Regions from separate parts of the Homo sapiens genome. Here all the other regions are linked to region 4. Evidence: promoter capture Hi-C in 16 types of primary human blood cells and fetal thymus (Javierre and others, 2016). All regions are on one chromosome and are shown on one strand. The core of a region is centred on a gene start or on the middle of the fragment in contact, and the rest is flanking DNA. Distances in the headings are between cores, read along the strand shown.

What was found. The method cuts DNA at HindIII sites, captures the fragments that hold promoters and counts their contacts. A CHiCAGO score of 5 or more calls a contact.
Region 1: a contact is called between the fragment with the promoter of ZNF324 here and the fragment with the promoter of ZNF671 in region 4, in 8 of 17 cell types (neutrophils, naive CD4 T cells, fetal thymus and 5 more). The highest score is 15.7, in neutrophils.
Region 2: the fragment with the promoter of ZNF497 here is called in contact with the fragment with the promoter of ZNF671 in region 4 in 7 of 17 cell types (neutrophils, naive CD8 T cells, activated CD4 T cells and 4 more); the score reaches 13.0 in neutrophils.
Region 3: the fragment with the promoter of SLC27A5 here is called in contact with the fragment with the promoter of ZNF671 in region 4 in 1 of 17 cell types (total CD4 T cells); the score reaches 5.3 in total CD4 T cells.
Region 5: a contact is called between the fragment with the promoter of ZNF837 here and the fragment with the promoter of ZNF671 in region 4, in 1 of 17 cell types (neutrophils). The highest score is 5.9, in neutrophils.
Region 6: a contact is called between a fragment that was not itself captured here and the fragment with the promoter of ZNF671 in region 4, in 1 of 17 cell types (neutrophils). The highest score is 6.4, in neutrophils.
Region 7: a contact is called between the fragment with the promoter of ZNF132 here and the fragment with the promoter of ZNF671 in region 4, in 1 of 17 cell types (neutrophils). The highest score is 6.1, in neutrophils.

What each region holds. Positions count from the first base shown.
Region 1 is chr19:58,465,248-58,468,798 of GRCh38, reverse strand. ZNF324 (zinc finger protein 324) reads right to left here and starts at 1,719. Exons shown (of 4, transcript NM_014347.3): 1 at 1,616-1,719. RefSeq lists enhancers at 219-338, 757-1,371, 1,372-1,988 and silencers at 1,470-1,599, 1,680-1,729. The HindIII fragment of the contact is 6,014 bases long and covers 1-3,551 here.
Region 2 is chr19:58,361,257-58,364,753 of GRCh38, reverse strand. ZNF497 (zinc finger protein 497) reads left to right here and starts at 2,003. Exons shown (of 3, transcript NM_198458.3): 1 at 2,003-2,077. It overlaps ZNF497-AS1 (ZNF497 antisense RNA 1), which reads right to left and starts at 2,128. Exons shown (of 3, transcript NR_136527.1): 1 at 2,002-2,128; 2 at 155-218. It also overlaps the pseudogene RNA5SP473. RefSeq lists enhancers at 2,309-2,438, 2,168-2,716. The HindIII fragment of the contact is 6,825 bases long and covers 1-3,497 here.
Region 3 is chr19:58,510,669-58,514,147 of GRCh38, reverse strand. SLC27A5 (solute carrier family 27 member 5) reads left to right here and starts at 2,156. Exons shown (of 10, transcript NM_012254.3): 1 at 2,156-2,880; 2 at 3,218-3,427. The coding sequence starts at 2,193. LOC105372485 (a long non-coding RNA gene) reads right to left here. Exons shown (of 2, transcript XR_001754024.2): 2 at 3,025-3,479. ZBTB45 (zinc finger and BTB domain containing 45) reads left to right here. Exons shown (of 3, transcript NM_001316979.2): 3 at 1-618. The coding sequence ends at 94. RefSeq lists silencers at 1-84, 105-154 and an enhancer at 1,939-2,453. The HindIII fragment of the contact is 7,866 bases long and covers 1-3,479 here.
Region 4 is chr19:57,725,739-57,729,476 of GRCh38, reverse strand. It overlaps ZNF671 (zinc finger protein 671), which reads left to right and starts at 1,853. Exons shown (of 4, transcript NM_024833.3): 1 at 1,853-2,086. The coding sequence starts at 1,949. RefSeq lists enhancers at 1,507-1,556, 1,697-2,136, 1,654-2,154 and a silencer at 1,475-1,700. The HindIII fragment of the contact is 7,103 bases long and covers 1,110-3,738 here.
Region 5 is chr19:58,379,512-58,383,098 of GRCh38, reverse strand. ZNF837 (zinc finger protein 837) reads left to right here and starts at 2,069. Exons shown (of 3, transcript NM_138466.2): 1 at 2,069-2,158. RefSeq lists a silencer at 1,808-2,317 and enhancers at 2,668-2,727, 2,262-2,803, 2,758-2,987, 2,804-3,345. The HindIII fragment of the contact is 42,021 bases long and covers 1-2,786 here.
Region 6 is chr19:58,299,815-58,303,837 of GRCh38, reverse strand. It overlaps ZNF8 (zinc finger protein 8), which reads right to left. Exons shown (of 4, transcript NM_021089.3): 4 at 1,047-4,023. The region is part of intron 4 of ZNF8-ERVK3-1 (ZNF8-ERVK3-1 readthrough (NMD candidate)); the gene reads right to left. Among named protein-coding and RNA genes, the nearest start is that of ERVK3-1, 3.6 kb to the left of the region's middle. The HindIII fragment of the contact is 9,060 bases long and covers 1-4,023 here.
Region 7 is chr19:58,438,430-58,442,060 of GRCh38, reverse strand. ZNF132 (zinc finger protein 132) reads left to right here and starts at 1,908. Exons shown (of 3, transcript NM_003433.4): 1 at 1,908-2,302. The coding sequence starts at 2,240. ZNF132-DT (ZNF132 divergent transcript) reads right to left here and starts at 1,613. Exons shown (of 1, transcript NR_186311.1): 1 at 1-1,613. It also overlaps a transcript of ZNF324B not described here. RefSeq lists enhancers at 711-1,220, 1,370-1,499, 1,732-2,242. The HindIII fragment of the contact is 11,200 bases long and covers 1-3,631 here.

The DNA of each region.
Region 1 (3,551 bases), core at 470-2,969, 740 kb before region 4:
ACCCCTCCCCTCTGCCCTCCCTGACCAGACCCCAGATGCCTTCTTGGCCTCCCCACTGGCAACGCCATACACAAGCAAGCTAGAACAAGTCCTGGCTGGGCCCTCAGCTGCCACACCAAGAGCAGCCCCAGGTGTCCACTCGTGACTCAGCATGACCACTCATGACCCTCCCCAGATGCACCCTTCCTGCTCTTGTAGCAAGAAACTGTGAGTCCCAGCAGGGGCTTCCCAGGCATACCCATCACTGGGACCCTCCCCTGCTGAGCCTGCTTGCCTGACATTTCCAGGCTGCTCATCCAGCCTGAGGGACTGGATGATTCTCACCAGTCGCCACAGGGGAGCAGCCTCAACAACCTGTGAACACAGAGGAACTCAATCCCTTCCTCCTTTCACCCGGTGTCCCCTTTCTTCCCCTCTCTGTTGCCACCCTCCCCTCCTCAGTTAGGTGCTAGGCTCTTCCCAATAGCCCCAGGCATCCCAGCTGGTCTTCTTTACCCTCAAGCCATAACTGCCCACACCTGGCTGAGTCCCTGCCCATTCCTCAGTCCAATTCATAGGCCCTGTCCACAGCCCAGGACGCCAACAACGTCAGGTCCAGTGACATGACCAACCTGGGACATCCCAGACTCTTGATCTTTCCCCTGAAGGAAACCTGCTTTCCTTTCAATTCTCCTTTCTATCTACAGCAGCTCTCTTCTTCCAGGCGCTCAGGCTGAACAACATGGGGTACTTAGTTCTTCAAACAGCCCACACCTGATGCATCCGCAGATCCACCAGAATTCACCTGGTCGCCCACCTCCACTGCTGCCCAGACTGTGGCAGTCGGTTCTTCCCTTCATGCCGACACCCCTGCATGTCTGTTCTCCACGCAACAAACGGTGGAACCGTTTTAAAGTCCTCAGAGGATGTCCTGATTCTGTTCAAAACTTCTATGTCTCCCGACGCCCTCGAGATAAAGCCCACTCCCTCGCCTGATACTGCAGCCGCACACATCCCCTCTACTCCAGCTCCACATCGAGAGAGCTCAGTCCCAGAAGCACCTGGGCTTCGGCTCCCCTCCCAGGTTTTGCACACGCAGGACTCTCCCCTCGGAGCCTCCTTCGGGACCTCAGCCCCCTGGCTGCCCGAACTCGGGAGCTCACCAGTGCCCTGGACGCAGGAGTTTGCACTGACCCCCGCAACCCCCCCAGGGCAGGGAGAGGAAAGACGACTAGGCGAGGTCTAGGAAGCGGCCTCCCTCCGTGAGGGCGCGGTCTGTGTGAGCAGGGACTCCCCTGCTTCCCCGACGCGGGCTTGTCAGCGCCACCGCCGCCAGCGGAACCCGCAGCTGGGAGGGAAGAAAGGCGTGGACCACCCAGCCTTTCCCCGCCAGCAGCGTCCCGGGGCCGCCCCGCGCCTCAGTCTCCCCGGCCATCATGGACGTGGAACGCCCAGCGCGCAGCCTCCTGGGCTGCCGCACGGTGGGAGAGCGCATGGCTCCCGCCGCGGCCCGACAGTCCCCTGGACGCCCACGACGCACTCTGAGAAACAGAGGCTTGGGGGCGCGGCCGGCGGCCGGCGCCCTTGATCACGACGCGTGCGCAGGGCGGGCCCGACGCGGGCCCTCAGCCAGTACCTTCCTCGCCGCCAGCCTCGAGCACCAGGAACCCCCTGGAAACCGGACCCGACCCGCGGTCCCCAGCCCAGACCACCGGTGTGGCCTGACGCGGGCGGCGAAGTGACAGTCCCACCGCCGGAAGTCCAGCCCTTCGGTTCTCATTGGCCCAGTGCGCGCCGCGGACGCTTGCGTACAGCCTTCCGGGTCACGTGGTTCCCGCCTGTTTCCCTGCGTGGAGGCGGGGCCACTACCGGTCTCCTTGGCAACGTCCAAGCCCCTGCCGCGCGGGGCGCTGGGAAATGGAGTCGCGCGGCGGCCTCGGGTTTTCAAGGGCTTGGTGGCGCTGGTGGATTCGCCCGGTGTGTAGTCCTGCCTTCGGCATTCCAGGTGTCCTCCCAAGCAGTCCCGGAGACTAAACCCTGCAGGTGCGAAAGCAGAAACTGCCGAGGTTCCAAGAGGCAACACCAGCAGTGAGCACGGAGGAGAAAATGCACCGGGTAGCGCAGGTGGAGGTGGAGGAGCCGATGCCTGGAGCTCCGGGTTCCCTTCCCAGCTCTGCCTCTCACTGACTGTGCGTCCTGGGCGCGGGTTTGACCTCTCTGTGTCAATGTCCCGTAAAGGTTTAAGGTCCGTTTTCAACCTTTACACCAAGAATTCTCAGCCCGTAAGCCTACATTTGTCTTAAGTATGAGACTGTTCCTCGACACTTGCCCAAAGCATCTGTTTTCCTTGTAATTTGGATGGGCAGAAGTTAATTCCCCAGATTTGCTTGTCCTTAGACCATCTAGATCTTGTCTTGCCCCACACATCACAATATTCATTCTTTTTTCCTTTTTTCTTGGGACTCATTTAAGTTTTTTTTTTTTTTTTTTAACAGGGTCTTTGTTCTGTTGCCCGTGCTGGAGTGCAGTGGCACAATCTCGGCTCACTGCAACCTCTGCCTTCAGGTTCAAGTGATCCCCCCGCCTCAGCCTCCGTAGTAGCTGGGACCACAGGTGTGCGCCACCATGCCTGGCTAATTTTTGTATTTTTTAGTAGAGATGGAGTTTCACCATGTTGGCCAGGCTGGTCTTGAACTCCTGACCTCAGGTGATCCGCCCACCTCGTTCTCCCAAAGTGCTGGGATTACAGGCCAATTTAAGTGTCTTTGACACATAAAAACGAAAGGCAGAGCAGTCTCAATGTAGACTGTCTTGTTTGGCAGATAATAAAAGGTTCTTTGTCTTGTTTTTGGAACCTGTAGACAGTTCTCAGCTGTCCAGTTCCTTAACTCTTTTTGCCTCCCTCCCTCTATACCTACCTCCATCTATAACTATCTCTCTGTCAACTGTCAGCTATAACTGTCCACCTAATTGATTCTACTTGTAAATCCTTGTAGAGCAAGGGAGCTCATCATGTTTGGAATGTTTTAATATAAATTTTGCTACTTTGAAAGAATTTAAGAACATTTCAGGACTGGGCGCAGTGGCTCACACCTGGAATCTGAGCACTTTGGGTGGCCAAGGTGAGCGATCACTGGAGCCTAGGAGTTTGAGACCAGCCTGAGCAACAAAATGTGACCCCATCTTTATAAAAAAATATAAAAATTAGCTGAGCATGGTCTTGCATGCCTGTAATACCAGCTACATGGGAGGCTGAGGTGGGAGGATTGAGTTCAGGAGTTGGAGTGTGCAGTGAGCTATGATGGAGCCCCTGCACTCCAGCCTGGGTAAGAGAGAGACCCTGTCTCAGGAAAAAACAAACAAAAACCCTGAGGGGGAAAAAAAAAACCCCAACACTTAGAAGTATTAAAGTTCAGGGCCGGGCGCGGTGGCTCACGCCTGTAATCCCAGCACTTTGGGAGGCCGAGGCGGGTGGATCATGAGGTCAGGAGATCGAGACCATCCTGGCTAACAAGGTGAAACCCCATCTCTACTAAAAATACAAAAAATTAGCCGGGCGCGGTGGCGGGCGC
Region 2 (3,497 bases), core at 754-3,253, 640 kb before region 4:
CCTCCACCTCCCAAATTGCTGGGATTACAGGCCTGAGCCACCCCACCCGGCCAATAAAAATTTTTTTAAAGCTAAAATTGACTCTCATGCAAATAAGATAAAATGAACATATGTTAAATATTTTAACTTAATGAGAGAAATAGTAAGATGTTACCAGTTACTTGATGATGGAGGAAAGGACGAAAAGCCAAGGAATACATGGAATGCAGCTCTAGGTGCTGAAAAAGGCAAGGAAAGGTTCTACGTTAGAGCTTCCAGAGGGAGCTCAGCCCTGTCAACATCTTGTTTCAGCTCAGTCATATCGATGTTAGACTTCTGGTCCCCAGAACTGGGCGGGAATATATTTCTGCTGTTTTAAGCCACCAAATTTGTGGTAATTTGCTGCATAACCACAGGAAACTAACACACCATCCCTCAGTTCTGCTTTTCTGTATGGACTCCATTCTCTTAACAGATTCATCCTTCAGCGGGGCAAGAAGGCTGCAGCTGCCCCAGCTGACAGATGCTCACAGCCTCAGGTTCAAAGCAGATAGAGGCCCTAACAGTTCAGAGAGAAGTCCCACGATGCTCACAGGTCCAAAGTGACCACTGCCAGGGCCAGAGGGATGGACTGCCCTGTGCTGTGGACCTGGGCCATGTACCCACACCTGCCCAAACCACCTGGGCTGAGGTGAGAGCTCCCTAGTACAAATTGGGAAAAATTGGTACAAAAAGAGCTCGTGGAGGCCGGGTGCAGTGGCTCGGGTCTGTAATCCTAGCACTTTGGGAGGCCAAGGTGGGAGGATCACTTGAGCCCAGAAGTTCAAGACCAGCCTGGGCCATATAGCGAGACCCCGTCTCTAGCTATTCATTTATTTTAGCTTACAGCATCTGGTCTATGTTGTTTTTTGAGACGGAGTCTTGCTCTGTCACCCAGGCTGGAGTGTGCAGTGGCACGACCTCAGCTCACTGTAACTTCTGCCTCCCCGGTTCAAGCGATTCTCCTGCCTCAGCCTCCCGAGTAGCTGGGATTATAGGCACACGCCAACAAGCCTAATTTTTGTATTTTCAGTAGAGACGGGGTTTCACCATGTTGGTCAGGCTGGTCTCGAACTCCTGACCTCGTGATCTGCCCGCCTCGGCCTCCCAAAGTTCTGGGATTACAGGCGTGAGCCACCGCGCCCGGTTTATTTATTTATTTTAGCCAACAGCACTCGGTGTTCCCAGACGGTCTCCCAAGTACTAACCAGGCCCGACCCTGCTTAGCTTCTGAGATCCCGACTCAATTTTTTTTTTTTTTTTTTGAGACGGAGTCTCGTTCTGTCGCCCCAGGCTGGAGTGCAGTGTCGCGATCTCGGCTCACTGCAAGCTCCGCCTCCCAGGTTCAAGCGATTCTCCTGCCTCAGCCTCCCGAGTAGCTGGGACTACAGGCGCCCGCCACCACGCCCGGCTAATTTTTTGTATTTTTAGTAGAGACGGGGTTTCTCCGTGTTAGCCAGGATGGTCTCGATCTCCTGACCTCGTGATCCGCCCGCCTCGACCTCCCAAAGTGCTGGGATTACAGGCGTGAGTCACCGCGCCCGGCCCCCGACTCTATTTTAAAAACCGCGTGGATTCCAGCTTGGTGGGTGTTCCACAGCGCGTGGGTGTGAGACGCAGCTCAGTGGCGTCAACTCAGCAAGGTTCCAGGGTGGTAAAGACGGCCTGGGGCCGGAGGAGGACCGCCAGGGAGAAGCTACGTTGGCCCGACTTGCGTCCGCGACCCGGGCAGCCCCAGGCGCCTGTGTAGCTGTTGGGTGTGTGCCGCAGAGGCTGGCCGGGTGCAGGAAGGGGCGGAGCGCATCCATGGCAACGCAGGACGCCCGAGTAGCTTGGCTGTGGCGCCGTCCCCATGGGAACCAGAAGGCGCGCGCCCGCAGCCGCGGCATAGTTACGCAGGCGCAGTGGGGAGAAACGCGACGCCTTGGGCCGCTCTGCCGAATGCAACCGCGCCCCCAGGAGACCCGGTGCCCGCCCTCCTACCATTCCACGCGGCTCGAGCCCGCGTGCGGGCCTCTTTCAGGCCGCTCCTAGTGGACGCAGAGGCGGGCCGAGGACGGTGAGTGACGCCGACGGACACCCTCGGCCAGGCACAGATCCGCCCTCCGGCTCCAACCACTCCCGCCGCGCGGGGCAGGACGGGCCTCGGCCCTGAGCTGGGCCCTCTGGGACCACCGAGAGATAGGCCTCCGCGCCGTCCAGAGCGGCCCGGAAGTGGCCCTGCACGGGCCAGAGGCGACCGTGGTCGGGACGGAAATGGCTCCCGTTTGCTGTTCTCTCGGTGAACGCGAGCCTTATGGCGATCAGTTCTGTGGCATCGTTCCTCCTGCTCGTTTATTCTTTCACTCATTCACTCATGCCCTGCCGCGCCATCATTTCTTCCCACATTCATTTATTCGTTCATCAGTCCCCAGCCCCGGGTAGTTTCGGAGCTCACCAGGCTGGGCTCGCCTCCCAGCCTCCGGAGCTGCCCGCACAGGCCTCGCGCCACCTGGCCGCAGCTTCCTCCCCTTTATCCACTCCGTATTTGTTTGTCCAGCCTAGGCCTTGGGGGTTGTGGGGGAGACACAAGTACCCGTGACTGGTCGGACAAGTGCCCGTTGTTGGGGGCGTGGGCGCTGGGACTGACGCGGGAGGTGGCTCTGATCATGTCGAGGTGAGGAGGAGGCGTTGAGGCTCAGAAAGGGCACGCAGCGTGGACGTGAGGACGTCGGGGAGGCTGGAGCAGTGAGGCCGACAGGAAGGACCTTACGGGGCTCACATGCTATCCCACGACGAGGACGGACTCAGGACGGCAGCCCTGATAGATGCGGCTGGGGGCTGGCGGGTCGGGGTCGCACACCACAGGATGGAGGGGCAGCGGTGCCTGGCTCCGCCTTAAGAAACATGGGCCCTTGGGGGACCCGGATTTCTGATACTTCAATACACAAATATGGATTTTTATTGAAATCAGATGTCGTTTTTTTAAAATTTAACTTTTGATTTGAGGTAATTATAAATTCACATGCAGTAACAAGTAATGCATACCCTATGTACGCTTTACCCAATTCCCCTAAAGGTGGCATCTTGAAAAACTAGAGGCCAGGTGCGGTGGCTCATGTCTGTAATCCCAGCACTTTGGGAGGCCAAGGCGGGTGGATCCCTTGAGCTCAGGAGTTAAAGACCAGCCTGAGCAACATGGTGAAACCCCATCTGTACTGAAAACACAAAAATTAGGCGGGTGTGGAGGCTGGTGCCTGTAATCCCAGCTACTCGGGAGTCTCAGGCAGGAGAATCGCTTGTACCCAGGAGGCGGAGGTCGCGGTGAGCCCACATCACGCCACTGCACTCCAACCTGGGCAACAGAGCGAGACTCTGTCTCAAAAAAAGAGAAGAGAAAGAAAAACTAGAGTACAATATCACAACTGAGATGCAGAATATTTCCATCACGAAGGATCCCCGTGTTGCCCTTACAGAGCCGCATACCCTTCCCTCCTACC
Region 3 (3,479 bases), core at 907-3,406, 780 kb before region 4:
CCGGCCCGAGCGCGCGCCCTGCCCCGCCTGCGGCAAGGTCTTCTCGCACCGCGCGCTGCTGGAGCGCCACCTGGCGGCGCACCCTGCGCCCTGATGGCGCTGGGGCCTGGCCTCGCCCACGGTGGATCCGGGGCCTCCCGCACAGTCGGCCACGCCCGCTGCGGGACCCGTGGTTCCCGCCACTAGACCACGCTCCCTCCTGAGCGCAGGTCCTCTCTCTCCCTTCACCCTTTCTCCATACCAGGGCCTAAGTCCGCCTTACTCCTCTCCTCCATGTACTTGAACCCTCCAGGTGGTGCCGGGCTGGGGCTGGGGCTGGTTAGACCACTTCTGAGAACTGGACTATTTCCTGCGTAAACCGGGCGCTCAGGCGCTTGGACCCGGCCCAAGATTTGACTCCGGTTCTCACCCCGCCCTCTCCTGGGGTGGTGGTGGGGGCTGGGGGGCCGCTTGCCTGCCCCAGGGTCAGGCTGGGCAAGGTCCCTAGCTCTCTACCCAAGCTGTTACTCCCTCATGGGGCGCCTAAGGAGACTCAAGTGGACCCATCATATATGGGGGCTGGGCCTCGGGACTCTCGCTCTAATAAAGGACTGTAGGCCATGGGGCCTAAACCACGAAGCTGTGAGCACCTGGATCAGTGCGTGCCTTGCCCTCATAGACAAGATGTGAGTGTCAGGGTTCAGCGTCCCTGTTCTTGGGTGGCATCCATGCGGCCCACAGGCTGTCCTGGGCAGGAACAGGATGGTCCACTTTGCCATCTAGGACCTCTATTCTGTAGGGGCTAAGGTGGGCTGCATATATAACCAGCACTTGGTTCTCTTGGATCCCTCAGTCCTGTGGGGAGTAGGATAGGCAGGCCACATCTGAGGTGGGTCTCCGAGAGGGAGGCCACGTGAAAGCCCCATCATACTCCTGGTTGCTGCTGTCCACGACCTTTAAGGCCCCTCCCATAGATCTTCCAGTCAGGCTCTAAGGGTCTTTTGGACTTAAGACTTCCCCTCCCCGACCTTGATGGACATGGCTGAGCACCTTACTTGTGGGGAGCCCAGGGGGATCTTTGGGGCCAGGTTGCACTGAGGGTATATAAGCCCCCATATATCTGCCCTTGGTGCTGGGGGCAAAGTTCAGGGAGGGCTCCGATGGCCGTGTTGGGGGCAGGAAACAGTGAGGGGTGGGATCCTGGGGCTGACTGCTGGGCGGTTGGGGACACCACCCCTACTGGCCAGCCAGTGTCCCAGGCCCCTGCATCCAGCGGAGAGAGCAGCCACTCTTTGCCCCTCTCCTCTTCAGCACAATAGTGGCTCCTAGCCTAGGTGCCCTGCCATAAGGATTTGGAGCTGGTGGAGTGGGGTATGGCCCCAGGCCATACCCCAGCCTGACCTGCCAGGCTCCTAGGCCAATGGCAGCTCCTCTGGGTTCACCTTCTGAGACTGCTTCCTCAAGGTGAGAGGCCAGGGCTTTCATGATCCAACTGTGTGCATCATGGGCTGACTTCAGTCTCCTGAACCCCAGGACTCCATCGTCGTCAAAGCCAGAGGTGGAGCAGAGAGTCAGAGCAAGCACATGGGTGGGGGGCAGAGCTGGGTTTGAATCCAGGCGATGCCAGTGTTCCTGTATTTACTGAGCACTTGCTGTATGCCTGGCAGGAGGGTACGATTCCTCGGATCATGGGACAAGGGGCTTAGCCTGGCTGAGCCCCTCTCCTCAGGGTTTCAGTGGGTGTCACAGGAGGACCTCCCAATGAGGTCCACCTTGCTGTCCTGTTGCTTTTCTGTTTGGCCTGATTGGAGTGTTCCCAAGGGCAGGGATTTCTGTGCTCTGAGTGTCTGGTACCCAGCAGGGATGGGAGGGGAGGCAAGGGAGTTAGATGCCAGCCCTGGAGGGTGGATGGGGCAAGCAGGACAGCAGGAAGGAGGCTAGTGGTGCCCAAGGGGCAGAGACCTGGGAACCCAGAGGCCAGTGATGGAAAGGGTTAGCGCCAGGCAGAGAGGGGCTGGACCCACACACAAGACCAGGCAGAGCAAACAAACGTAGAGGAGAAGGGCTGGGGGCAAAGTCCTGGGGAGAGGACCAGCCACTGTCAGCAGTGCCAGGGCCACCACCCCTGGGGAGGAGCCATTGGGCTACTCTTGAGGGGCCAGAGGTGAGCCTGAACACTCCACAGCTGCTGCTCCTAGGGAGGAGCTGGTACCATGGGTGTCAGGCAACAGTTGGCCTTGCTGCTGCTGCTGCTGCTCCTGCTCTGGGGCCTGGGGCAGCCAGTGTGGCCAGTCGCTGTGGCCTTGACCCTGCGCTGGCTCCTGGGGGATCCCACATGTTGCGTGCTACTTGGGCTGGCCATGTTAGCACGGCCCTGGCTCGGCCCCTGGGTGCCCCATGGGCTGAGCCTGGCAGCTGCGGCCCTGGCACTAACCCTCCTGCCAGCACGGCTGCCCCCAGGACTACGCTGGCTGCCGGCTGATGTGATCTTCTTGGCCAAGATCCTCCACCTGGGCCTGAAGATCAGGGGATGCTTGAGCCGGCAGCCGCCTGACACCTTTGTAGATGCCTTCGAGCGGCGAGCACGAGCGCAGCCTGGCAGGGCACTCTTGGTGTGGACGGGGCCTGGGGCCGGCTCAGTCACCTTTGGTGAGCTGGATGCCCGGGCCTGCCAGGCGGCATGGGCCCTGAAGGCTGAGCTGGGTGACCCTGCGAGCCTGTGTGCCGGGGAGCCTACTGCCCTCCTTGTGCTGGCTTCCCAGGCCGTTCCAGCCCTGTGTATGTGGCTGGGGCTGGCCAAGCTGGGCTGCCCAACAGCCTGGATCAACCCGCATGGCCGGGGGATGCCCCTGGCGCACTCTGTGCTGAGCTCTGGGGCCCGGGTGCTGGTGGTGGACCCAGGTGAGGGCCTTGGAGCCAGTGGAGAATGGAAGGGGGCAAGGGCAGGGACTATAGGACAGGGGTTCTGCTGGGACTGGCAGAGGCCCTTGGTCCCCACCTGCCTACTTTCACAGGCAATTATAATCAAGACTTATGAGCAGAAAGTAGTTCTCAGGTCATCAGAGTTTAATTTTCCCACAATTTGACCAAAAATACTAATGATGGGATTCTTTACCAAACAACATGGATGCTTTTCTCTACTAGCTGCTCCTCTGCCTGCATCTGTGGGTCTCAGATCCCGCCTCGCAACCTCAAAGGTGAGCCTTGCCTCTGTTTCTCCTCTGACCCATCTCTGCAGACCTCCGGGAGAGCCTGGAGGAGATCCTTCCCAAGCTGCAGGCTGAGAACATCCGCTGCTTCTACCTCAGCCATACCTCCCCTACACCAGGGGTGGGGGCTCTGGGGGCTGCCCTGGATGCAGCGCCCTCCCACCCAGTGCCTGCTGACCTGCGTGCTGGGATCACATGGAGAAGCCCTGCCCTCTTCATCTATACCTCGGGGACCACTGGTGAGGGTGCCCATTAGCCCTAGCACCAGCCTCTGAACTCTCAGGCTGACCT
Region 4 (3,738 bases), core at 604-3,103:
AGTCTGTGCCTTTTAATTGGAGCATTGAGCCCATTTACATTTAAGGTTAGTATTGTTATGTGTGAATTTGATCCTGTCATTATGATGTTAGCTGGTTATTTTGCTCATTAGTTGATGCAGTTTCTTCCTAGCCTTGATGGTCTTTACAATTTGGCATGTTTTTGCAGTGGCTGGTACCAGTTGTTCCTTTCCATGTTTAGTGCTTCCTTCAGGAGCTCTTTTAGGGCAGGCCTGGTGGTGACAAAATCTCTCAGCATTTGCTTGTCTGTAAAGTATTTTATTTCTCCTTCACTTATGAAGCTTAGTTTGGCTGGATATGAAATTCCGGGTTGAAAATTCTTTTCTTTAAGACTGTTGCCTTCTTTAGAATATTTATTTAGGGTATTGTGACAAAGTCAAAAGGTGATGCAGGACAAAAATCATTATATGCAGGACATGTCCTGTATGTATAGGAATCTTGGAAATTTTATTAGTGATGTCTTTCATGCTACTAACACATTTGAAAAACACCTACTGAGAGCTCGTATGTGTTCCTTGGATGTGTATTTTAACAGTGAATTATCAAGACAGCACAACTTCACTGTTGATTTTTACCATTCTGATATCTTCTTTACAATTGCTCAGCATTTTCAGGAAAAAAGAGTCACATTTTGTTGACAAAGTGTGGTCAAGATCACAACACAACCATATGCTTAACTTCATTCTTTCACTTATACTTTAGTATTCAGGCTCAAACTTTACTGAGATCTTAACTTTGTCCATCTATCACAGATATTTCCTTAGAGCAATTTCTTTCATTATCTTCAAATAACTACGGAATCATTATTAATAGCTGTCAGGATTTTTCCCCCGGGGATAATCTCACCTCCTAACACAGACACCATACTTACAATGACAATGACAGGTTAAATGGTAATTGCACTGTGTTTTGCTGTGATGGAGACATCACTGATTACCCAGGCAGGAAGAGTTTTCTGAAGAAATCTGTCCACTGGTTTCAGGGAGACTCCACATCATCCCTCTTCCTTCTTCCACTCCAAGGCCTTGTTTGGAATATTTTCTCTTCCGTCTCTGACCAAACTGAAGCTCACAAAAGTTACTGTAAAGCTTGAGTGCACACATATTTAAAAAGCAACAAGGTAATAGTTATTAGCTTCTAGCTGTGAGTGTACGCAAAGAGACATTGTGGTGTGGTGTATCTATTTAGTTTTGCAGCTTTGGGGAACATCTGAAATGTCTCAACATTTCTGCGATCGGTGCATACTACACTCCAGGGAATCTAGGTCCAGGCCTTTTAAGAGGACAGAAGTCAGCCGGGCACCATGGCTCACTCCTGTAATCCCAGCACTTTGGGAGGCCGAAGCAGGCAAATCACAAAGTCAGGAGTTCGAGACCAGCCTGGCCAACATGGTGAAATCCCGTACTCTGCTAAAAGTACTAAAATTAGCCTGGCGTGGTGGCGGGCCCCTGTAGTCCCAATTACTTGGGAGGCTGAGGCAGGAGAATCGCTTGAACCCGGGAGGCGGAGGTTGCAGTCAGCCGAGATCGCGCCACTGCACTGCAGCCTGGGAGACAGAGCGAGACTCTGTCTCAAAAAAAAAAAAAAAAAAAAAAAAGAGGACGGAAGTCCTGTCAGCCCTTTGAAACTCGGGTTACTTTTCCCAAACAACTTGGCCCTCCTACTTCGAGTTTTCCCAAGAGCCCAGGCCGAGAATCCCCTGCCTTGAAGGATAGCTCAGTGGGAACCACACTCTACCCACAAACCTATACGTTGCATACCCAATGAGGGCCCAGGAGAGGGGTGTTTCAGTGCCTGCGGGGGGTGCGTGGGCGGGACTTCCGGCTCCTCCTTGTAGCGGACATTTTGTTTCTGTCAGGCTGTCCCTGGCCGGGGTTCTGTAACGCTTGTGTGGGCCGCAGGTGGAGGTGTTGGGAAAGCGCGGAGGAGATGTTGTCCCCAGTGTCCCGAGACGCGTCTGATGCTCTGCAGGGACGGAAGTGCCTGCGTCCCCGATCGAGACGCCTGCCGCTCCCGGCAGCTGTCCGCGCCCACGGTCCTATGGCGGAGCTAACGGACTCCGCGCGGGTGGGTGCTGCGTCCTCCGGGCCCTCAGTCACCCTTTCTCCGACTCCGAATCGTAAAGTGCCTGCAGCCCCTGTGTCCCAGGACAGCGACGCACTCTTGGGGCGGGGTCCTATCTCGGTGTGGGTGGGTGTGGGAGAGTTACGGGCGGAGGGGACGGCGCAGGTAAAGGCTCGGGGGTGCTGCTGACCCCCAAACATTTGGGAGACAGGGTTCTCATCAACACAGAGCAGAGTTTGAGGAACTGTGACTGGAATGGCAGGCTGAGAAGTTGTCGCTTCATTCTGAGGGCGTTGAGATTAACTGAGGGTTTTGAATAGAAGGACGTGATCTTAGCTGGGATTTTAAGTGTCTCGAAATTTGCTCAGGGGAGAACATTAGTTTGGGGTGGGGACTGCGAGGATGGATACGAGGAGACCGGTAAGGAGGCTACTGCAGTGGATTCCAGGAATGCTTTGGTGGTGGATGTACCAAGAGTAATGGCAGGTGAGTGGGTAGAAGTGATCATATTCTGGGTAGGTTTTAAATTTGAAACCAACAGGATTTTCTGCTCCATCATATGCAGCTATGACTGAAAGTAAGGCATGAAAGAGCAAGGTGTTTTTGTTGTTTTTCCATGAACGTTTGGATTTTGGAATGGTGACTTTGAGATGTCTCAGAGTGGAGGCTTCCTCACTTAGGCAACTAGAGAGGAAGGTCTGAAGTTGTGGGGAAGGGGCTGGGCTTAGAATATCTTTGGGGTGAAGGGAGCGGTCTGGAGTAGGTCAAGGCCAGGAGGTCAGATTTAAGTGGGGCAGTCTTAAGTATGTTATTTCATATCTCTGGGGTAAGAGATGAGAAGGCTGGGACTGCAGGGCAGGGAAGAGGGAGTGGGCATTCTTGAGACTCCCCCCAGAAGAGAAGGGTCCTGCCATTTGAAAGGGTTCTTTTCAGTGTTTGCAGGAGGAGAGAGCTGTAGGGTATGAGGAGTTTGGCCTGGGATGGCAACGATGGGTGGTGTGCTATTGCTACTATCTGATTATCTCACCCTCATTTTGTGTGTTTTCTTTTAGTTTTAGTTTATTTATTTTTTTTATTTTTTTTGAGACGAAGTCTCACTCTGTCGCCCAGGGTGGGATGCAGTGGCTTATTGCAACCTCTACCTCCCGGGTTCAAGAGATTCTCCCGCCTCAGCCTCCCAAGTAGTTGAGATTACAGGTGCCCACAACCACCCCTGGCTAATTTTAGTATTTATAGTAGAGACGGGGGTGGGGAGGTGGGAGGGGTGGGGTGGGGTGGGGAGGTGGGAGGGGTGGGGTGGGGGCGGGGGAGTGGGGGGGACGTTCACCGTGTTGGCCCAGGTGGTCTTGAACTCCCGACCTCAACTGATCCACCGGCCCCAGCCTTCCAAAGTGTTTGGATTACAGTTGTGAGCCACTGCACTTGGCTTTGGTTTTATTTTATTTATTTATTTTTTTTTTGGAGACGAGTCTCGCTCTGTCACCCAGGCTGGAGTGCAATGGTGCGATCTTGGCTCACTGCAGCTTCTGCCTCCCAGATTCAAGTGATTCTCCTGCCTCAGTTTTCCCAGTAGCTGGGATTACAGGCATGCATCACCATGCCCAGCTAATTTTTGTATTTTATTAGATAGAGTTTCACCATGTTGGCCAGGCTGG
Region 5 (3,587 bases), core at 820-3,319, 650 kb before region 4:
AGGCCTTTCATTGGTGCTTCAAACTCCACTCCAGGGCTGCCAGTCACCCCATGCCAGCCCTGCAGGGACAAGGCCTTTGTGTGGTGGCCAGGCCTGTGGTACCACCAGAATCTTCACTCCAGAGGGAGGCCCTTTCTGTGCCTGGGAGTGGGAAGTTCTTCCACATAGGCTCAAGACTCCTCCAGTAGCAGTGCATCCACAGGTGTGAGAAATCCTACTTGTGTCAGGCCGGGTGCAGTGGCTCATGCCTGAATCCCAGCACTTTGTGAGGCCGAGGCGGGTGGATCATGAGGTCAGGAATTCAAGACCAGCCTGGCCAAGATGGTGAAACCCCATCTCTACTAAAAATACAAAAATTAGCCGGGCGAGGTCGTGGGCACCTATAATCCCAGCTACTCGGGAGGCTGAGGCAGAGAACTGCTTGAACCTGGGAGGCGGAAGTTGCAGTGAGCTGAGATCGCGGCCACTGCACTCCAGCCTGGGCAACAGAGCAAGACTGTCTCAAAAAAGAAAAAAAAAAAGAAATCCCACTTGTGTCCCAATTGGGGCCAGTGGCTGAACCTGTCAGACATCTGCACACCCACACAGAGCCAGCAGCTGCACTCCTTTCTCTGTGACAATTGTCAAGGCCTTCCTGTGCAACTCTCTTCAGCCACCAAGGGACCCACAAGGCGGGCAGCCCTCCAAGTGCCCTTCAGCCTCCTGCTCGCCCTCAATTAGCTTGGTAAGCCCTGAGTTTTGTACTTGGGCAGGGAGATAGACCTCCTGACAAGGCTTTCGATGTGCAGACACCCAAAGGATGGAGAAAGGGAGTGGAACAGTCCCAGCATCCCTGAAGCAGATGCAGTGGAGGCAGAAAGGTGGGGCAAACTGGGTCGTTACATGCAATATATGTGCTGGACTGGCCAACAAAATTAGATGTCCCTATTGAGGGCAGGAGCCACACAATAGATGGGGGCAAGAGCTGGGGGTTACAAATGGGTAGGAGGCGTGACCAGTTCATCCTACCTGGGAGGGCCCGTAGAGTCAGCAACACCCAAAGGGGCTGGGGAGGCTGTGGTTCCCCAATGGGGCCGCACGTGTTAGAATCAACTAGGAGCCGGACTAGGGGCCTGGCGCAGTGGCTCAAGCCTGTACTCCCAGCACTCTGGAAGGCTGAGACACGAGGATCGCTTGAGCCCAGGAGTTCCAGACCAGTCTGGGCAACATATGGAGACCCTATCTCTAAAATAAATAAATAAATAAAAATAAAAAAACTATCCAGGCATGGTGGCTCCCACCTATAGTCCCAGCTATTCGGGAGGGTGAGGTGGGAGGGTCGCTTCAGTACAGGAGTTCGAGACCAGCCTGGGCGACATAGTGGGAGGAGGAAGGGAGGGGGAGAAGGAGGGGGAGGGAGAGAAGAAAGAAAATTAGCCGGGCGTGGTGGCGCGCGCCCCTGTTAACAGCTACTCTGGAGGCTGAAGTAGGAGGATCGCTTGAGCTCAGGAGGTCGAGGCTGCAGTGAACCGTGATGGTGTCACTGCATTAGCCTGGGCGACAGAGCGAGACCCCGTCTCAAAAAAGCAAACCAAAAAAAATACAAAAAAATAGACTTAACTGAGGAGTTTTGACGCGCATATGCTCGGGCCCAGTCCCAGATTCTGATGTTATCGGTCTGACTCGCAACGCGCTCACCAAGACACTTCAGAGCTCCCCAGGTGCTTCCCAGCCCAACTCTCCCACCCGAGGGGAGCCTGCGAACCGCAAGTCGGTTCCGGGTTGGGACCTCTTAGAAATCAGATTGGGAGAGGAGGCTATCAATCATAATCATGACCAGTCACCCGCTTTCACGAGAAGGAATGGGCGGGACCCTACGTCCCCGTCCAGAACGCCGTTTCTTTGGCGACGACTTAGGTCCACGCCCCGCCTTTTAGGTGTAGCCGGCCTCTGTTTCTATGATAACCGAAGCCCAAGCCTCTCCCTACACCGCTTTCTCCGCAGCGTCAAAGCGGGACATGACGGGACTACGTTTCCCAGCAGTCCCCGCGCGGGTTCCCGCCTGCGCTTGCTGTGGCCCGGGTCCCTCAGTGCCGCGGCGGCCCGGAGGTGGCGGGAGGACGGCTCCGCGCTGCATGCGGGGCGGGGACCAGGGACCCGTGCGGGCCGCCTCCAGAGAGTAAGTGGCATTCTGCGCGGACCCGCAACCTCGGCCTGCGAGGCGGGGACCTCCCGGCGCATAGCGCGGCCACCACCCCAGTCCCCTCTCCACCTCCGCGCGCGGGGTCCGGGGCAGAGGCGTGACGCCGCGCACTTCCGGTCCTCGCGCTCCGGGTCCGGACCGGCCACACAGCACTCGCGACCTTGAGTTCCGGGCGGGACGGGCTTCTGTAGTTCTGGCCCCCGCGTTTCCGTGCTGGGTGTCATTGAAGCCCGCGAGGGGAGGCTCCAGGCCCGGGACCCATCCTGGCGGCCTGCGGCTCTCGGAGTCAAGCCCACCTGCTAGCCGAGGCCGACGCCGGCCTCCCTACCGTCTCTGCCCCCGCATCCTGGCCTTTGCACTTTGCTCTTTCCTTGTCTGCAGACCGGTTTCATGCCCCCTCTTCACAGAGGCCCGAAGAATCCGCTGCCTCCCTCCCTGGCGCCCTCGCGCTGCTCCCTGTCTGATGTTCTTCACGTCTTTTTCTCTCTTAAACGGTCTCTTGTTCATTTCTTCTTGTCTGCGGTCCCCTCCTTCACTCACTATTAGAGCAGGATGCAGCACCGTTTGGCCCTGACACAGTGGATGTCCTGCGAGGGTTGAAGCTTGCTAATCCTTGAGGGTGGAGGCACTGTCGGGAGGACAGACACAGAAGGGAGCTGTGCCTGCACTCAGAGGACATTTCTTCTGCTGTACAGTGCATGATGCACTGTTCTTCCCATTGCGTGCACAGTGTAGAATTGGACATAGGGGCTAGAGTCTGTGTCCCCTGGGACTGTCAGTGTGGGTGAGGTTGGTCTGTGGCTCAGAGAGGTGGAGCCACGCTGAGCTGGGCACTAGCCTGTGTCCTCCACACCTCAGAGCCACCAACGTTGACTTCCCTGCACATTCTGTTTTTGTTGTTGTTGTTGTTGTTGTTGTTTTGAGACGGAGTTTCGCTCTTGTTGCCCAGGCTGGAGTGCAGTGGCGCGATCTCGGCTCACTGCAACCTCCGCCTCCCGGGTTCAAGCGATTCTCCAGCCTCAGCCTCCCGAGTAGCTGGGATTACAGGCATGCACCACCGTGCCTGGCGACTTCCCTGCACATTCTCTTGGGCAAATAAGACCTCATTGTGCCGTGTGCAACCTCCATGAGGATGTTGAACCTCACTAGCTTTCCTGTGTGTGCTGTTGCTCTGCAGTTCTGCAGGGCTCAGCCTTGGCCACGTTAACCTCTCAGTCCCCCTAAATTGGTAACTCTGCATCCTGTTCCCAACACCAGAAGCCCTAAGGACAACTAGAAAGGCTGGGCGAGCACCCAGGTGCAAGCATGCTCACCTGGGGCAGGTGGGAGGTCACTGTAAGAACAGCCTGGGAGAGCTGTAATGCACCATCAAGGACGGGCTCCTGGGACCTGGGACCCAGAGCCT
Region 6 (4,023 bases), core at 754-3,253, 570 kb before region 4:
CAGCCACCCTCCAGGGACCTTTATCTTGTATCTTTGGTATCATCGAGTTGAAGCTGTTTTACACTCAACTGTTTCTGTCAACTGAACACACACACACACACGAGTATATATAGAACAAGTATGAATATGACCAAGACACACACTCTCTGCTCATGTGAACACTGTATGGGGGATGCAGACAGTAAACAATGAAAGAAATTATCAAACTTACTTTAATTTGAAACAGTTAAGATTTTTGTTTAAATTTATTTTTTGAACTGGTAATAATTTTACATGTTTCAAAATTCCAAAAATATAAAATGATAAAGAGTGAAAATTATTCCTCATCACTGTCCTCCCAATTCTTCTGGCCAACCAGTATGCCACTTTTACCCTTTCAGAGATTATGTGTGTACATATAAACAAATGTTTCTTATTTATTTATTTATTTTTGAGATGGAGTTTCGCTCTTGTTGCCCAAGCTGGAGTGCAATGGCACAATATTGGCTCACTGCAACCTCCACTTCCTGGGTTCAAGCGATTCTCCTGCCTTAGCCTACGGAGTAGCTGGGATTAGAAGTGTGCACCACCACACCCAGCTTTTGTATTTTTAGTAGAGATGGGGTTTCACCGTGTTGGTCAGGCTGGTCTTGAACTCCGGACCTCAGGTGATCCACCCGCCTCGGCCTCCCAAAGTGCTGGGATTACAGGCGTGAGTCACCTTGCCTAGCCTGTTTCTTCTTTACATAAATGGAAACATACTCTACAGTTTGACACCTTGCTTTTATCTACTTAACTATCTTAGAGCTCTTTCTCACATTAGTATAGTTTGAGGATCCCTAATTCAAAAATCTGAAATCTGAAACACTTCTGGTCCTGAGCATTTTGGATAAGGGATACTCAACCTGTATATAAAGAGTCTTCATTTTTAAGGCTATGATCTCCATTCCACCATAAATGACTTAGCCAGTTCCCCATGGTGGACATGGAGGGTTGTTTCCAAATTCTGACTTTTAAAATCAATAGCATAATGAAAACCATGTACAAACAGTCTGCACACATACAAATATATGTGTAGGATTTATTCCCAGCAAGTTTGCTTAGACAAAGGGTTTATGTATGTGTAATTTAGATAGTGGCTGATAAACTGCCCTCCACAGAAGTTGTATCAATTCACATTCCCACTGTAAATGTATAAGAACCCCTCCAATGCCCCCTTTGAGAAAACTCAAGGCTGGTAAAATACTGGGTGGAGAGCACATTGTTACAATCCTCCTGAAAGTTAATTTAAAGAGCTACATGAAATTCATAGAGAAAATCCTCAAAATAGAGTAAGCACATGTTACAAGACAACTAGAAGGGATTCCAAATTTCTAAACACAAGATAACTATACACATATATATTCCTCTGTGTGTATGTAAAATTTAGTGTACACTATGTATGTGTAGACACACGTGTATATTTTAAGAAAAAGCTGCAAGGAAAATTAGTAAAATCCTAATGGTAAGGACCATCTATGGATGGCTAAAGTATGAGGAATTTTACACAAGTTTTCATTTTTTTTTTACTTTTATGCATTTTCCAAGTTTTGCTACAAAGAACTCGCATTACTTTTATGAACAGAAAAAAACATGTCTTTTCCCTAGTTAACAGTAATTTCCACGGAGGAGTTTCTTATCTGTTTCAAAATATCTACAAGGAAATCAGTAGGAATATCATGCTTAGAAAATGTGAACTGAAATGAGAAACAGAAAATATGCAAAGATCTGAAACACTTCTGGTCCCAAGCATTTCGATAAGGAATATTCAAGCTGTATATAGAGTCTTCATTTTTAATGAATTTTTATGATCACCATTCCACCATAAATGACTTAGCCAGTTCCCCATGGTGGACATGGAGGTTCTTTCCAAATTTTTACTTTTAAAATCAATAGCATAATGAAAACCATGTAGCCTGCACACATATAAATATATATGTAGGATTCATTCCCAGCAGGTTTGGTGAGACAAAGGGTTTATGTATTTGTAATTTAGTGACTGATAAACTGCCCTTCATAGAAGATGTATAAGAACCTTCCCACACCCCCTTTGAGAACTCAAGGCTTGTTGAGTTCCAGTTGATTGCTTCATCCCAGCTTACCACCCTGTGGGGCTGCTATAACCTCAGCCAACCCCATGCCCCCTCAGAGAAGTATCAACTGTGACCCCTTCAGGACTGGCCATTTTGGGGGCCAAGGTGGAGGGAATGAGGCAATCACAGGCCTGACTTCCAGAGCTGTCTAGAACCATGCTGTCATTTTTGGTCCCACTGCTTCAGAGGGGAGGAGCTTTCCTGTCTGGATTCCCAAGCCTGTGCCCCAAACTGCTGGTGGAGCAGAAAGGAGGAATGATCCAGAATAGGGTTTTGGTACCAGACTGTTTGGTTCACACTCTGGCTGGGCCACTTGGTAGCACATTACTTCTCCTCTTAGGGCCATCCTGCACTGTTGGTGGCAGTGGGGATGAAGTAAGCAAATCCGAAATGTTTACATGGCAAAATCAACAGGACCTCTAACTCCATGGAGTGGGGAAGGGGAGAGGTCAAGAAGACTGGTTTTCTGGCTTCCATGATGGGATGGCAAGTGGAAACAGCCTCCAGGAAAGGGATCAGGGAAGCAGAGACTAGTCTGGGTGGAAAATGAGTTTTGTTTGGGGTAGGCTGGGTTTGGGGAGCTTTCGGCACACCTCGGGGAGTTGCCCAGTAGCACACAGCAGTTGTTTGGGTCTGAAGCCCAAATCTCAGAAGCACCAGACTGATTTGGTGGTGAGCAGCACAAAGCTAGGGATGTAGATGACACCTGGGGAGGGCGTGGAGCACAAGGTGGACTCTAGGACCCCAGCATTTAGGAAGGGTGACGGGAGGTTGAGAAGTCCCTGAAGAGTTAGAAGGAACCCCACAATGCAAGGAGATGGAGCTCTGCAAAGAGGTTAGCAGGCTTCACAGTCCTGGGGATGAAGAGAGACGACACCAGAGGTAGTACCTTGGACAGTGGTTGCAGTGGGTTCTGTGAAGCAGTGGGGGCGGACAGCAGGTCTGAGGTGTGAGCTGCCACCAAGGGAATAGGGAGCACAAGCGATTCTCCCAAGAGCTTGAAGGAGAAAAGCAGCAGATACGGCTAGCTGCCTCCATCATCCACCAAGGGAATAGGGAGCACAAGCAATTCTCCCAAGAGCTTGAAGAGAAAAGCAGCAGCTACGGCTAGCTGCCTCCATCATCCACTTCCCAGGACTTTTCTCTCCCACCTGTCTCCACCACAGAGGTTAGAAAGGTAAATACGAGGTTTCTAAGCCCCGTTGTTATTAGGGGTGGCCCCCTGACCCATCTGTGGCCAGTGAGACTAAGGGGGGCATGTGCTGCAGGCTTCTGGGAATGTTTTTCCTTTAAACACCATCAGCGGTAAGTGTTGGCCTGCCCATTCCCCCTTCTTTCAGTCTTCACTGTGGATGCAATGGCTGGAGCCATAGGAGTCTCCTCATGACCACAATGGAAAGGTTGAGAGATTGCAGAAAACATCGACTGTGACACAGCTGAGCCACTGAAAAGACAGCCTTTGAACAAAGCCTCATCTGTTTAAGCCATGGTCAGCTGGGTGCTGACATCAAATTCTAACTCCACCACTTCCTAGCTTGGGCTGGTTACTTTTGTTCTAGTTACCACTAACTTTTGTCCTGTGCCAAATTTTGCCTATCTATAAAATGGTACTAACTCACAGAACTATTATTGTGGCAGTGTCGGAGGGTGCAGCATTTAGCTATGCGAATGGAGGTTATCTAAGGAGACAGAAGTGGCGCAGTCCAAGGTAGGAGGCCAGAGTTGCTGTGAAAAGTGAGAGCTGACACGGCAACGTTTTGAGGACAACCCCGAAGAGGTAAGTGCAGAGAAACGAACTTGGGCCATCCACAGGGTCCTGTTGAACCTCTAGAGATGAACCACAAAGCTCTGGCTCTGGCATCCTGGAGGCCAGCTCTGCCTTGATTGGATAGCTGAGTTGTGACACTCCCAG
Region 7 (3,631 bases), core at 659-3,158, 710 kb before region 4:
GCCAGTGCCAGGGCCAGCAGCACCTCCCAGAGGGAACAATGGAAAGGCGGAGGAAAACCTAGATTTCATGTGTAGGGGAAAGAGGAGACACAGTAGCCTTACCTAGTGGGCACTGGAGTACAAAGCTCTGTAGTATCATGTCACTGTAGAAGCCCCCTTGGACCTCACTAAGGAGCCCCACATTCTTGGAAGATGTACTGACCCTGTCCTCAAAGGTCATTAAGCCCTGCAACACCAAGCCAATGGGCAGACAGATGTGATCTAAGCACTGAGCGTGAGCCCTAGCCACTGGTCCTCCAACCTAAAACCCTCCTTCCCAAATCCTATCCTCAGGCCGTTCACTGGGCCAGGCCACCAACATAATGCAGTCTGGACGTCCTGAAGCCACACCAGAATTCTATATATCCAGAGGCCCATTTGACACCTCCACTCACAGGTCTCCAGACAATTCAGACTCTATACCTACAAAATCCATCGCTAATCTTCCATGAAACATCCTCCTCCTGCCAACTGCCAACCTCTATTCTCCACAGGAGGCATCCTAATTCTTCCTAACTACTTGGGATGGTCCTTCACCCCTACTCATGCTTATTCCACTTATCTAAGGTAGCAAAAAATTCCATTAGCTCTATCTTGAAGATCCACTGGGAATCTGATCACTTCTCCCATCCTTCTTGCTTCCGTTCTGGACAGGCCACTATCATAACTGTCTGGAACAATACTGCAATAACCTCCCCCACAGTCTCCCTGCTTCCAGCCCCACTACAACCACCTTCTCCAGTAGTGTGTTCATTCAGCAACCACTGAAATACTTTCCAAATTCTAACTCAGGTCATGTCCATCCCTTTTCTGTTCAACACCTTTCATGGCTCCCAGGCGCCCTCGGTGTGCCAGGAGAGGCAGGACTCCTCTTACGCTCTCCACTCGCTGCCAAGGGGGCATGAGAGCCTGCCTGAACGCTCAGGTCAGGGTCAAGTCCAAGTCTTCGCATATGCAGATCCCTCCTCCTGTACCCTCCACGTCTCAACAAACTGGATTCTGAAATGGTGACCCCCAACCTGTGAACGCTCCACACTGTTCAGTGGGGCCCGCAGAGGACCTGGGGCAGATACTTCTCAATCGGAGACTTAGGACAATGGTGCTGAGTCCAGCGGAGTGGGTGCCAGGAGACCTTTGGCGCACGTTCCATGCCTACAGCCGGGCGCACACTGGGTCAAGACCTCCCAATGCGTAGCTTTTCTTGGCCTCGGCCTCGCGCTCCCTAAAGCCAACATAACGCCAAGGGCGACGACTCCCGAGAGCCGCGGACACCTCCGCGCGGTGCAACCTGAGGGTCCCACTGGGCCGGCTTTATCTAAGGCACAGGGTGGGGAAGGGGGGTGCGGTGTTGTGGGGGGCGAACACTGGGCTCAGGGGCGATATTCGCCGCGGTGGGGGCGCTTGTATGTCAAGAAGGCGGAACTTCCCCGACTCTCGTGCCTTCCTCGCTCCTGTTTCCATGGGCCCAGGGAGCCTCCAAGATTCCGTCCCTCGCCTGACAACGCGGTCCCTTCAGAAGCAGACAAAATCGAGAAATGCCAAAGTGATGGTCCGAGGACGACGACGGAAGTCCCGCTGCCAGGCTGTGATTGGCCAGCGTCTTACACTCCGCCCGGAAGTGCCTGTCTCCTCGGCTGCCAATGGCCAGCCCTGAGGCACCGCGAGGGTCCTTCTGGATAATGTAGTTTGCGTTGCCTGAGCAGCGACGCAATAAACGCCATTCCTCAATCACCTTGGCAACGACCTAGCAGTAGCGTGACGGGCATAGGGAAATAGCGTCATAGACGGCGGGGATCCTTGAGCCAATGAAAGCTCGGACCAGTGGCAAGTCCGAGCTGTCATTGAGAGGCGGGACTTCCGGCGCCGCCATTGCGGTCCTCATTTTGCTGCTGGTGGGTTGGGCTACAGCAGGCCTCTGGAGCCACACCAGGGCACGGGAGTGGGTGCAGGGACCGTCACCGCGCCTTCACACGCACCATAGTGCCCGGCTAATTACTCTGCTTTTATGAGCCAAGGTGTTCCCGAAAGTGGAGCCAGCGCCACGCGTCTCCAGGGTCTCCATACCCAGCCTTCGTCCCTGCGGTGCCCAGAGGCCTTGCGCGCATTTTGCATTTGGGAAGACAGGTCCTGAGTGCGACCGTCACCCAGCGGAAGTGTGAGGGTTCGGCCCAGCGGCAGGGCTAGCCCTGGGCCTCCTGTTATGGCCCTGCCCAGCCCACAGGTTCTAATGGGGTTGCCAGCGTTGCTGATGGGCCCGGCGCAGGTAAGTGGAGTGTGCCCCAGGCCCTCACCCGCTGGGATTCCGGCCCTCAGGATCCTGAAGCCCAGATAGAGGGGATGTTGGTGTCCTGGGACTCTTGATCGTGTCCTGTCCTCACACGTGGGTCCTGGGCCCTGCCCTGGGAGTCACTTACCCTTACCATCCTGAATCCAGGCAAGGGGTTATATCGAGGGATTCCCATTTCTGGAATCCTGTGGAATGAGATCTGGAAGGCTGTCCCAGGGACAGTGACCAGCATGTGTACCTTGTTTAGTGGTGATGAAATGGAAGCATTCTGGGGACTGCCGGTCTCCATTTAGTCTGGTGGAAACAGGGAAGGGAAACCAATAGTTAGGCCTGGAATGGCAGCCTGAGGAGCTGGACCTCTATTCTGATGGTGGTGGGAGCCATGGAAGGTTTGGAGTAGAGGAAGTAGGTGCTCTGACTCCAGTCTTAACAGACGCCCTATGGATGCCTAGTGGGCAGCAGACTGGAGGGATGGTGATGGTGGAGCAGGAAGGCCAGTGAGGAGCTGACAGATGTGGTCCAGATGTGTGCTTTGGGTAGCTGGACAGAGGGGTGCCCGTGGAGGTAGGACAGATGGTTGGCTTCTGAATCTGCCCAAACTGGGCCATGGATTACCTGATGTGGGACAGTGAAAGAAAGTGAAATGTTAAGATTGACCTAAGGCTGAGTGCAGTGGCTCACACTTGTAATCCCAGCACTTTGGGAGGCCAAGGCGGCCAGATCACTTGAGGTCAGGAGTTCAAGACCAGCCTGGCCAACGTGGCGAAACCCCACCTCTACTAAAAATACAGAAAAATTAGCCAGGACATGGTAGTGTGCACCTGTAATCCCAGCAACTTGGGAAACTGAGGCAGAAGAACTGTTTGAATCTGGGAGATGGAGGTTGCATTGAGCTGAGATCGTGCCACTGCGCTCCAGCCTGAGTGACAGAGCGAGACTCTGTCTTAAAAAAAAAAAAAAATTGCCGGGCGTGGTGGCTCACGCCTGTAATCCCAGCACTTTGGGAGGCCGAGGCAGGTGGATCACTAGGTCAGGAGATTGAGACCATCCTGGCTAACACGGTGAAACCCCATCTCTACTAAAAATACAAAAAATTAGTCAGGCGTGGTGGTGGGTGCCTGTAGTCCCAGCTACTCGGGAGGCTGAGGCAGGAGAATGGCTTGAACCCGGGAGGCGGAGCTTGCAGTGAGCCAAGATCGCGCCACTGCACTCCAACCTGGGTGACAGAGCGAGACTCTGTCTCAAAAAAAAAAAAAAAAAAATTGACCTTAGATCTTTCAGATGTGGAAGTTGGTGTGAGGAGTA